Regions from separate parts of the Homo sapiens genome. Here region 1 is linked to region 2. The links are contacts of gene promoters, found by promoter capture Hi-C in human tissues and cell types (Jung and others, 2019). All regions are on one chromosome and are shown on one strand. Each heading gives the region's core, a stretch centred on a gene start or on the middle of the fragment in contact. The rest is flanking DNA. Distances are from core to core; before and after follow the strand shown. Region 1 overlaps C17orf67 (chromosome 17 open reading frame 67). Region 2 holds the start of COIL (coilin).

Region 1 (6,189 bases), core at 3,503-6,002, 150 kb before region 2:
TAAATAAATAGTAGAAAGTCAATTCAGCTGAAACCTACATGCCTCCAAAAGGGATGTCTCCAAGCAAATTAGTTCCAGCCTTCGGAGAGGGTTCATCCCATTCCTATGAAGTCTAGAATCCTACTCTCCAAAATCTCTGAAAATGTGGGGTCAAGTTTATTCTGAATATTCTCATAACCAATTTCTCTACCCCTGCCACTTCCACATTCTAGCCATTCCCTTGCTCTCTTGTCAGCCCCCACCACCCCATACAACACATCCCTGCCATCCACCATTCCCTCAAGGAACTACTAACACAAAGTTTCTGTATGTAGCGGACTTGTCCTAAGGTTTGGGGGTAGCAGTGGGTAATAACAGCACAGAGCAGAAAGCAAATTTAAACTCAGTGTCCAGAGTTACCATAAAATAAATGTATCCGTTATTCCTGCTGCTGGGAATTTCAGTGGGTTGCCCTCCTTGGGTTCTACCTTCCCACCTTTCTCTTCATACGCTACCTCCATATGCTGCCTCCATACACTCAAAATCCCTCCTTCTCTCTTACCCAGAGCCATCTGTCTCCCTCTGATCTCCCTCTCCATCCCCTCTGGGCCTTGCCTTCCTTCATCTAGGTTCCCCGCAAGATGTCCGTGCTCCTCTGGGTTGAATACTGGCCCTCCCTACAGTACAGGGTTACCCAGCAATCTTCTCAAAAGCACTTTGTCCTTCCCACCACCAAGTCAGAAAAGAACAGCTTGTTGCAGTGAATCAGCAGGATCTATGTCAAACAGTCTAGCCCTTTGTGTGCACGGGCACAGCTTGTCTCAACCTGTTTTCAAAAAGCCTATAAATCCACAGAAGCCAACCTCTGCCAATATTTAAGCCAAGTGTTAAGTGTATAAACATGGCTCAGTAGATCTTCATGAGGAGAGACTTCTGCAAATCTTCATACTTGTTTTCATTTTGAATTCTTAACACCTCCCCTAAAGCACCATTTGTTTACCCTCATCAATGGCCTCTTCCCTCTCTGGAAGTGTTTTCTTTTGCACAGTCCCTTAACATGGAGAAGCAAAATAAAATAACCTGACCAGTCATCTCTCGGTGATTTAGTGTGGAGGGGTGAGTGTGAGGGTATGTGGCTCTGTTCTCAAGGGCACATGCATTCTCCAATGATCACTAACTCTACTCATTTGCCCAAGTCCACTTGTTTGTCTCCTGGGTACCATGGCAAGAAGGTGCAATAGCGCATCCAAAACGTCACTTCCTATTTCCCAGGTATGACAGCATCTAAAGGCAAGCATTTAAGAGGCTGTGTCCTGAACCTCTAAAGGGCCCCTGGAAACAAGATCTAATCACATCATTCCCCTGCTTGAAATCCCTGCACAGCTCCCTACTGTGTACAGAAACCCAACTCTGCTGTGGCATCCAAGTACCTTCCAACCCAGCCTCACAACAACCTGGCGATGCCATCTGCCATCATTCCACAAAACCCAGGTCCGCAAGTCAAGGCGAAAGTAGAAGAGGGGGCTGGAACTCAGACCTTCTGAAAAAATACTCAGTAAGGCCTTTTCAAAACACACACACACACGAACCCTCACACACCCCTCACACATACACCCTCACGTACACCCCTCACACACACCCTCACACATACACAGCCTCACACACACCCCTCACACACACCCCTCACACACAACCCTCACGCGCACACACACCCACACACACACCCTCACACACAGACCCCTCACAGACTGCTCACACACAGACCCTCACACACACCTATTACACACATTCACACACTCCTCACACATACACCCTCACACCCCTCTACACACATACACCCTCACACACACCCCTCTACACACACACCTCATACACAGACCCCTCACACACCCCTTACACATACACCCTCACACACTCACACACCCCTTACACATACACCCTCACACACACCTGCACCTTCACACACCTCTCACACACACCCCTTACACACACCCTTACACACACCCTCACACACCCCTCACACATACTCCTCACACATACTCCTCACTCACCTCACACACAATCCTTGCACAGACCCTTCACACACACACCCCAGACATCCCTCATACACCCTCACACATGCATCCCTCACACACACCCCTCACACACCCCTCACACTTCTGACACACACCCTCACACACCCCTCACACTTCTGACACACACCCTCACACTCCTTGCACAGACCCCTCACGCACACCCCTCACACCCCCACCTCACACACACTCCTTGAACACACCCTTCACACACACACTCTCACACACACCATCACACCCCTCACATACATCCTCACACACATGCATCGCTCTCCCACACTCCTCATGCACCCTCACACACCTTCACATACTCCTCACACACATACCCCTCATACAATTCTCACATTCGAATACACACACCCTCACACACACACCCCTCACACATCCCTCACACACACAAACCCCTCACATGCACAAACCCCTCACACACACCCCTCACACACACCCTCATACATACCCTCATACACACACCCCTCACACACATTCACACACACATACACACATACACAATACTGGCAGCCAAATTCACAGCATGGTGCATCCATCCCACCCTCTTCCCAAGCAAAGGGACATCTGTGCGCAGCTGTTCTTGGCCTACACTCAGAAACAGGGAGGGTGAGGAGGTCTTGGCAAAAGGCAAAGAGCCAGAAGGGCTGGCTCCCAGGAGGCAAAGGCCTTAGCCTCTGAACTCCCTCCTTCCCAGGCTATGAAGATGTGGGCCCGTATGGCAGCTCTAATGCCAGCCTCTGGCCTCCCCTGGCCAGAGGTCCAGGCTTATCGGCTCCTCACCACCCAAGGACAAACCTGAGGCCACTGCCTCTTATGCTCCAACTGGGAGTGCAGGGCCAGGATCATTTTGACAGTCACAGTTAAATGCAGTAAATTACCTCTTTTTACATGCCACTGACTGGCATTATTAATTTTGCTTTCAGTAAATCCATAAAAGAAGAAGTCAACAAGGAGACCCAAGAGGCGTGAGTGGGTCAAATGGTAAGTCGAGGATGTGGAGTACTCCCAGCCGCAGGGCCAGCATGAGGTGAGGAGGCCTGTGGTTTCTAGGGATACCCCTCCAGGGGCCTCAGAATAAACTGCCTGACTCCTCGCTTGGGTTGGTATCCTGCTGCCTCTGGCTCTTCTGTCACATTGCAGACTGGCACCAGGAAACCTGTGTCAGCCCCAAGGTTCTATCCAGAGCCCTACAATATGAGACCTGGAATTAGACATTCTGGAATCTAGGCCAGATTCCAGCCAAACTCTGCATTTTATAGATGAAAAAACTAGGCTTCCAAAAGAGGAAGTGACTTACCCAAAGTCCACAACTAGTTAGCGGCAGAATATGGACTGGAAATGCACTGGGTGGAATATTCTTCCTGCCTCATCCCTACCCCCTGCCCTGCCTGAGAACTCCTGGTCATCCTTCAAGCCACAGCTGGGTGGGCACCTCCTCTGGGAAGCCTTCCCAGCCTCCCCTTTCCTTCCAGTTGGAGCTCGAGACTCTCTTCTTGCAGAGCCGCAGTCCATTGTACCAGATAACCTCGTTAGTGAGCCCAAATCAGGCTGGGGCTCGAGACTCTCTTCTTGCAGAGCCGCAGTCCATTGTACCAGATAACCTCGTTAGTGAGCCCAAATCAGGCTGGGGCACTCTGGCTCCACCTCCACACAATGGGCACCTTGAGTAAGGAAGAATGTCTGGTTTATCTTTCATCCTCAGTCCCTGGTGCTTAGTAGGGCATGGTCAATATAAAATCTAATTAAGTGCACATCTTGATCAGCACGCACCACTTGACCCTCTCACTCTCTCTTTTTGTCTAAACAACTAAGATACTCTCCATACCACCCAGTTCAACATTTAACAGCTTTCTAAATGCTTTTATGTTCCCAACTAGACCACAGGAGCTGGTACACACGTGGCTGATTTCTCCCAGATGGCCTAGCCCAGTGGTTCTCAGCCTCGGCTGCAGGTTGGCATCACTGGGGCTTTGGCCCCATCCCCCATACCCAGGTCCCACCCCAGGCCACCCCTCTGGGAGTGGGACCCAGGCATCGGAATTTAAATTCCCCAGGTGGTTCCAGAATGTAACCAAAGTTAAGAAACACATTTCTAGAAAAAATACGATACCAGAAACTATTTGTTAATTCAACCAATTCTGTGTGTGTTCAAGTGAGTGCAATTATAGAGAGAGACAGAGAGAGACACACACAGCGTGACAGAGAGTAAACAAGAAAAAGTTTACTTGGCAATGTGTAGACTTGGTTCCTCTCCTTTGGCACTACTGACATTTTGGGCCAGAGGGTGGTGGAGGCTGCCCTGTGCCCTGTGTAGGGTGTTTAGCAGCATCCCTGGTCTGTACCCACTGGGTGCCAAAAGCAATGCCCCACACAGGTGTAACCACCAAAAATGTCTTCAGATATTGTCAAATGTCCCTGGGGATGAGGGGGCATAATCACCTATGGATGAGAACTACTGGTGTAGACTAGCCACCCAATAATTGACTGCATGTTTGTTTCACATTTCAATTGTAAAACATATGACCACTTTTCCAAACTGGACTGAATGCCTGAGGATTCTGGACATTGGATGAAGTGTCTCTGAGAGGGACATGGAGGATGGGATGGTGGCTCAGCAATAGGTTCTGAGGCAAGAAGGAGTTACATGGAAACTAATCAGGTAGGTTCGAGGCAGTTAAGAGGAGCAGGTGGTGGTCAAGCCTATAAAAGATGAGCAAAACAAACCAGAAAAAGCCAGATATTCAGTAAAATTGCAAAGTTGGAAGCAAGCAGAGGGCTGTCAAGGATTAAGGGAGGTGATGACCACAAGTGGGAAAAAGCAAACAGAGGAGAAGCTTTCAGAAGTTTTTGAGCAGGGGAAGGACCACACAAAACAGGGTTTTAGGGCCAGAGTCTAGCCTGGCAACAACAGTTGCAACAACGGGCTGCAGCAATTCAAACCCACCTGTTCACCCACATCTACAATGCCTCAGTTAGGACAAAGACTGTTATTCCACAGACAGAGTTCAAAAGAGCCAGGTGCAGATGCTGGCACAGAAAATGTCAGGGGGCAGATGTGGGAGTCATTAGAGCTGCCTCTCGAGCACCTTGAGCAGGAGCCACTGCTTTGAGGACTCTTCAACCAGCTCCCCCAGCCCCTGCCGGGTCCCTGAGGAAGAGCTGCAGAATGGCCGCTCCAGGCATCATGCCAAAAGCACAGGGGGCCAGCCAGAGCCCCCACCCCCAACCCGCCAGCCGCCAACAGGATCCCTCCCTCCAGGCATCCTCCTCCCCATCACAGTTGTGCACATGCTGCCCTTCCTTCACCCCAGCCCCTCCTATGCCTCCCCGCCTTGCTCTGCCACCCCCACTCTCTTGGCTTCTCTATCTCTCTGCATTCCTTCTCAGCCCTTTCAGGGTTCCTCTTCCCCTGCCCACCTCTGAGTGTTGGTGATCCCAGACTTCAATCATGGGCCCCTTCTCTCATTGTCTCAAACTCTCTAACACCCAGATCTGTACTCCCCAACTTGAAAAATCCTTCAGTTGTTCTCTACTAGATACAAGATAAAACCCAAGATACCTCTTATTCTACAAAAAAAAAAAAATTAAAAGCCACATCTATCCCTAAGAGCCTGAAGTCATCTGTTCTTAAATCATACTGCATAGCAGCCATTTGCTTACTTCTGTCTCCACCACAGACTTTGAGCAGAAACCTACAGCCCCGGCACCTAGCAGGTACCAGGTACTTAATACTCAGAGGAGTACTTACCATTTGCTGAGCACTTTCTAAGTGCTTTCTTAAAAAGTACTTTGTTTTATCATCATAAAATAATTATTTTACATTATTATTTATAATAATAATATTATAGTAATATCAGCAATAGTATTTATTATCCCCATTTTATAGATGAAAGTACTGAGCTGCAGAAATGTGAAGAAACTTCCCCAAACTTACCCAGTTAGTAAACAGGGAGATTCAAACCCAGTCTGACCCCAAAGTCAGCACTCTTCGTCACTGTGCAATACTATATCTTAATAAGAGCCTTTAAATGAAATAATCTAATTATGCACGAGATTTTGCAGTGAATGAAGGTAAATGCTACTGCAGCTCCTTCTGAGCCTCAACATGGAGATTCAGGGAAAACAGGAT
Region 2 (5,836 bases), core at 138-2,637:
ACAACAGCAGGTTATGAAGAAAACACAACGATTCCCCTTTGTCAGCTTCCTGCACCTGACCCTGAAGGCCGCCATGGGTAAGGCCGGGTCTCCGGCACATCTGCACCATGGGCACGCAACAGAGTCGCACAGTGCCTAGCTAAGCGCGGATGTGCTAAATCAAGGCTGAAAGAAAGCCTGGCCCTGCCCTTAGGCATCAGGGATTTTCCAAGTTTGATTCTCCTGTCATCAGAAGCATCCCGGGAAGGATGCTCGTTACACTGCAGATTCCAGCCAGGCGCGGAGGCTCACGCCTGTAATCCCAGCACTTTGGGAAGCCGGGAGGATCACTTAACGTCAGGAGTTCAAGACCAGCCTGGCCAACACGGTGAAACCCCGTCTCTACTAAAAATACAAACAAACAAACAAAAAATTAGCCGGGCATGGTGGCGCCCGCCTGTAAGCCCAGCTACTCGGGAGGCTGAGGTGGGAGGATCGATTGAACCCGGGAGGTGGAGGCTGCAGTGAGCTGAGATCGCGCCACTGCACTCCAGCCTGGGTGACAGAATGAGACTCAGTCTCAAAAATAAAAATAATAGGGGCAGGATGCGGTGGTGCACGCCTGCAATCCCAGCACTTTGAGAGGCCGATGCAAGCGGATCAACTGAGGTCAGGAGTTCGAGACCACCTTGACCAATATGGTGAAACCCCATCTCTACTAAAAATACAAAAATTAGCCGGGCGTGGTGGCGGACGCCTGTAGTCCCAGCTACTCGGGAGGCTGAGGCAGGAAAATTGCTTGAACCCGGGAGGTGGAGGTTGCAGTGAACCGAGATCGCGCCACTGTACTCCAGCCTGGGTGACAAAGCAGGACTCCGTCTCAAAAAAAAAAAAATAATAATAAAAAATAATAATAAAATGCAGATTCCTGAGCCCCAAAGTTGACTACACCAATCAGGATCTCCGGGGTTCGCGAACGTGCATTTTTACAGCCCCACCCCCCTCCAACCCTCGTCCCCTTCCCCATCCCCCATCCCCTCCACTACCAGGTCTAGCGGCTTCAGGCCCGGGCGTGCGCAGGCGCGTCCCCCGCCCGCCGCCCACCCGGCCGTCCCGCTCCCTGCGCCGCGCACCTGAGGCAGTCGTTGTCTCTCACAAGGCGCGCGCTCTCGGCGGGGGGCAAGAGCCCCCCCTCCAGGTAGAGGCCTAGGAAGGCCCCAGAACTGAAGCCGAAGCGCTGGCGGATGAGACTAATGAGATCTGTGACGACTCGGCATCTGTTCAAGTCGACCAGAAGCCAGAAGGCCGTACAGTGCGGGGTAGCTGGCGGCGGGTAATCAAATTGAAGCCGTAGCCTAACCGTCTCGGAAGCTGCCATCTTGCTTGGTGCTCAACGGAAGCCGAGAGATACCACGGGGCCACCGAGAGGCGTGCTCGGGCGGCTCGCCCCCGCCGGAGCCTTTGGCGTGTGCCACCTAGTGGTGAAACCTGGCTACTACAGGCTGCGTCTAGGCGAGAACTCGGAGCGTGGTTGATTTCATTCAATTTTGTTCACGGCAGGGCTGAGGAAGGGAATAAGTGAAATGCCTTTATTACATTTCTACTGGGCGCTATGTAGGGTCTCCTAATTAAGGCAACTCTCTGGATAAATAACATTTCTCCTCAGCAGTAGTCTTCTAAGATATTTGCTCATCGACGTGAAAGATTTTTATAAAACAATCCTAACACATTTCGCTGACAAAATTTTTCATCATGATGAGTTGAAAAAGATGTAAGTCCTAGTGTGTTCTCAATGTTGAAATTTTGAAATAACACTGTTAATCATTCTTCCAAATGTATCCAGTGGAATATAAATACCTTAGCCTTTTAATACCCACCACCAAACAAAAATGTCCTTGCATTTCTCACCAGATAAATAAATCAGTATTTACATTATTTCTTCTATTTTTTGAACTAGAATTTACATTTCTCCACATAATATATATTAACTCCTTTAATTTTCATAACAAAAGTTAGGAATTATGAACTGTTATCCTTATTTAGAGGATTTAAAAAAAACAAGGTTCAGAGAGTTTAAGAAGTAACTAGAGGCCAGGAGCAGTGGCTGACGCCTGTAATCCCAGCACTTTGAGAGGCCAAGGTGGGCGGATCACTTGAGACCAGGAGTCTGAGACCACCCTGGCCAAAATGGTGAAACCCCAACTCTACTAAAAATATAAAGATTAGCCGGGTGTGGTGGCATGTGCCTATAATTCCAGCTACTCGGGAGACTGAAGCAGTAGAATCGCTTGAACCCAAGAGGTGGAGGTTGCAGTGAGTCAGGATCGTGCCACTGCACTCCAGCCTGGGCAATAGAGCAAGATTCTGTCTTAAAAAAAAAAAAAGGAGTAACTTCCCCAAGTTCACTAGACTAGTTAAGTTGTAGATACCAGGGAGTCAGTAGATGAATTGAAAACAAAATTTTTTAACTGAAAGTAAGGGTTTTTGGATTTTCTTTTTTTAGAGTCTTGCTCTGTCACCTAGGCTGGAGTGCCGTGGTGCACTCTGCCTCCCGGGTTCAAGTGACTTCCCACCTCAGCCTTCCTAGTAGCTGGAACCACAGGTGTGAGCCACCAAGCCCAGCTAATTTTTGTATTTTTTGTAGAGATAGGGTTTTTCCATGGTGGCCAGGCTGGTCTCGAATTCCTGAATTCCAGCAATCTGCCTGCCTTGGCCTCCCAAAGTGGTGGGATTACAGGCATGAGCCACCACCTCCGACTAAAATCAAGTTTATTAGAGAATTAAAGGAATAAAAGAATGACTACTCCATAGACAGAGCAGCGAGCCCATACTATAAGTATACTCAGTCAAGTATACTTATAGTTACTTCTTGACTGTATGCTAAACAAAGGATGGATTATTCATGAGTTTTCTGTATCCCTAGGAAAGGGGCAGGGATTTCCCTCAGAACTGAGGGTTACTCCCCTTTTACACCATACAGGATAACTTTTGGGCATTTCCGGCTGGGCGCAGTGGCTCACCCCTGTAATCCCAGTTTCTCCACATCCTGACTACCATTTGGCATTGTCACTATTTTTTAGTCATTCTGGTAGATGTGTTGTGGTATGTTGTGGTTTTATTTATTTGTTTGTTTGTTTTGAGGCTGGGTCTCATTATGTCTCCAGTGCTGAAGTGCAGTGGCGTGATCACAAGGCTTACTGCAGCCTTCACCTCTGAAGCTCAAATGAACCTCCCACTTCAGCCTCCTGAGTGGCTGGGACTACAGGCATGCACTGCCATGCCCTGCTAAATTTTGTAATCTTTGTAGAGACGGAGTTTTGCCACATTGCCCAGACTGGTCTCAAACTCTTGGGCTCAAGCTATCCTCCCACCTCAGCCTCCCAAATATTGGGATTACAGGCATGAGCCACCATGCCCAGCCTCTTGTGGTTTTAATTTGTATTTTCTAATGGCTAATAATGTTGAACATTTTTCCTGTGTTTATGTGCTTCTTCAGTGAAATTCTCTTCAAGTCTTTTACATCTACTCTTATTAGATTGTTAAATTTTGAGAGTTCTTTATGTATTCTAGATAGTAGTACTGAGGCAGGAAAATAGGATCTGGAGGCAGGGAACATAAGGCCAATTCACACTTCAGCTGTGACAGGAAATATCCTCTTCATTTACATAGGGCATACGAGGAGTAAATGACTTTCTAACTTTACCTCATCCTCTCCATTTACATAGGACATACACCAAGAAACCAGTGGAAACCTCTGGAGGGTATTTAAGCCCCCAAAAATTCTGTAACAGGGCCCTTGAGCCCCTATGCTCGGGCCTGCTCCCACCCTGTGGAGCGTACTTTCATTTTCAGTAAATCTCTGTTTTTGTTGCTTCATTCTTTCCTTGCTTTGTTTGTGCGTTTTGTCCAATTCTCTGTTCAAGATGCCAAGAACACCCTCCACCAGTAACAGTACTTTGTCAGATATGTGGATTGCGGATTATTTTCTTTGACTCTGGAGCTTTTTTTTTTTTTTAATCATTCTCTTAATAGGGCCTATCACAGACCAAAAGTTCTAAATTGTGATGAAGTCTGGTCGATCAATTTTTTCTTCACTGCTACCTCTGCCTCCCAGGTTCAAGTGATTCTCCTGCCTCAGCTGCCCGAGTAGCTGGGGACTACAGGCACCCGCCACCACGCCTGGCTAATTTTTGTATTTTTAGTAGAGATAGGGTTTTACCATGTTAGTCAGGCTGGTCTTGAACTCCTGACCTCCGGTGATCTGCCCACCTCGGCCTCCCAAAGAGCTGGGATTACAGGCGGGAGCCTCTGTGCCCAGCCTGTTTGTTTTTTGTTCTGTTGTCCAGGCTGGAGTGCAGTGGCAAGATCATAGCTCACTGCAGCCCCTACTTTCTGGGCTCAAGCAATCCTCCCAGCTCAGCCTCCCAAAGCAGTGGAATTACTCGTGTGAGCCATAGCCTGAGTTAATTTTTGTGTAAGAGTTATATCAGCGTTCATTTTTGTTTGTTTGCTTGCCTCTTGATGTCCAATTGCTCCAGTACTATTTGTTAATAACACTATATGTCCTCCATTTTGAATCTTTTGAATGTTTGTCAGAAATCAGTTGGGCATATTTGTGTACATCTATTTCTGGATTCTCTGTTCTGTTTCATTGATCTATATGTCTTTCCCTCCACCAACACCATACAGTCTTTTTTCTTTTCTTCTTTTCTTTTTTTATTGAGAGGGAGTCTCACTCTGTTGCCCAGTCTGGAGTGCAGTGGCGTGATCTTGGCTAACTGCAACCTCTGCCTCCCAGGTTCAAGCAGTTCTCCTGCCTCAGCCTCCCGAGTAGCTGGGACTATAGGTGCGCACCACCACGCTAGACTAGTTTTTGCATTTTTAGTAGATACAGGGTTTCATAGGTGTACACCACCATGCCAGGTTAATTTTTGCATTTTTAGTAGATATAGGGTTTCACCATGTTGGCCAGGCTGGTCTGGAACTCTTGACCCCAAGTGATCCACCCGGCCTCCCAAAGTGCTGGGATTATGGGCTTAAGCCACCGCGCCTGGCCCTTGTTTTCTTTTAGAGACAGATTGCGCCCACAGTGCAGAGCAGTGGTGTGATCATAGCTCACTGTAGCCTCAGACTCCTGGGCTCAAGTGACCCTCCCAGTTCAGCTTTTCAAGTAGCTAGGACTACCATGTCCATTAATTTTTAATTTTTTTGTAGAGATAGTGTTGGACTATGTCTTCCAGACTGATCTCAATCTCCTGGCAGGTGCCACCACGCCTGGCTAATTTTTTGTATCTTTAGTAGAGACGGGGTTTCACCATGTTGGCCAGGCTGGTCTTGAACTCCTGACCTCAAGTGATCCGCCTGCCTTGGCCTCCCAAACTGCTGAGATTACAGGCGTGAGCCACTGTATTTATGCTTTGCCCTAATTGCTTTAGCTATTCTACTTCCTTTTCCTTTTCTTATAAATTTTAAAATAATGTTGTTTGTGTATATCTCCAAAAAATCTTGCTGCGATATTGGTAGAAATTGTGCTACACCTATATATTAATTTGGTATGAATTGACATCTTTAGGATGTTGAGTCTAAATCCATGAACACATTATGTCTTTCCATTTATTCAGCTTTCTGATTTCGTTCATCAGCGTTGTGTGGTTTTAAGCATACAAATCCCATACAGGTGTTGTTAGATGTCCGGACTCCAAGTGCCAGTTCCTTCCTGGTGTTCAGCCACTGCGTTGATCCTCCACAGGGGCCTGCCATGCACTGCTCTGATGAGGCATTCCACCAGGGCAATTGCCTACCAGGGACTGCTCTCAGGATCCATGTCACTCAAGCTGGCTGGAGTCCCCCGCAGGGA

What was found. Contacts are between HindIII fragments. The study calls those that stand out against the background at their distance.
Region 1: a contact is called between a fragment that was not itself captured here and the fragment with the promoter of COIL in region 2, in 1 of the 25 tissues and cell types used here (spleen).

What each region holds. Positions count from the first base shown.
Region 1 is chr17:56,807,934-56,814,122 of GRCh38, forward strand. All of the region lies in intron 6 of C17orf67 (chromosome 17 open reading frame 67), which reads right to left. Among named protein-coding and RNA genes, the nearest start is that of C17orf67, 23 kb to the right of the region's middle. The HindIII fragment of the contact is 6,914 bases long and covers 1,296-6,189 here.
Region 2 is chr17:56,959,663-56,965,498 of GRCh38, forward strand. It overlaps COIL (coilin), which reads right to left and starts at 1,388. Exons shown (of 7, transcript NM_004645.3): 1 at 1,113-1,388. The coding sequence starts at 1,357. It overlaps LOC105371836 (a long non-coding RNA gene), which reads left to right and starts at 1,486. Exons shown (of 4, transcript XR_934875.4): 1 at 1,486-1,750. RefSeq lists a silencer at 990-1,099 and enhancers at 1,226-1,520, 1,270-1,409, 1,420-1,469. The HindIII fragment of the contact is 17,787 bases long and covers 1-5,836 here.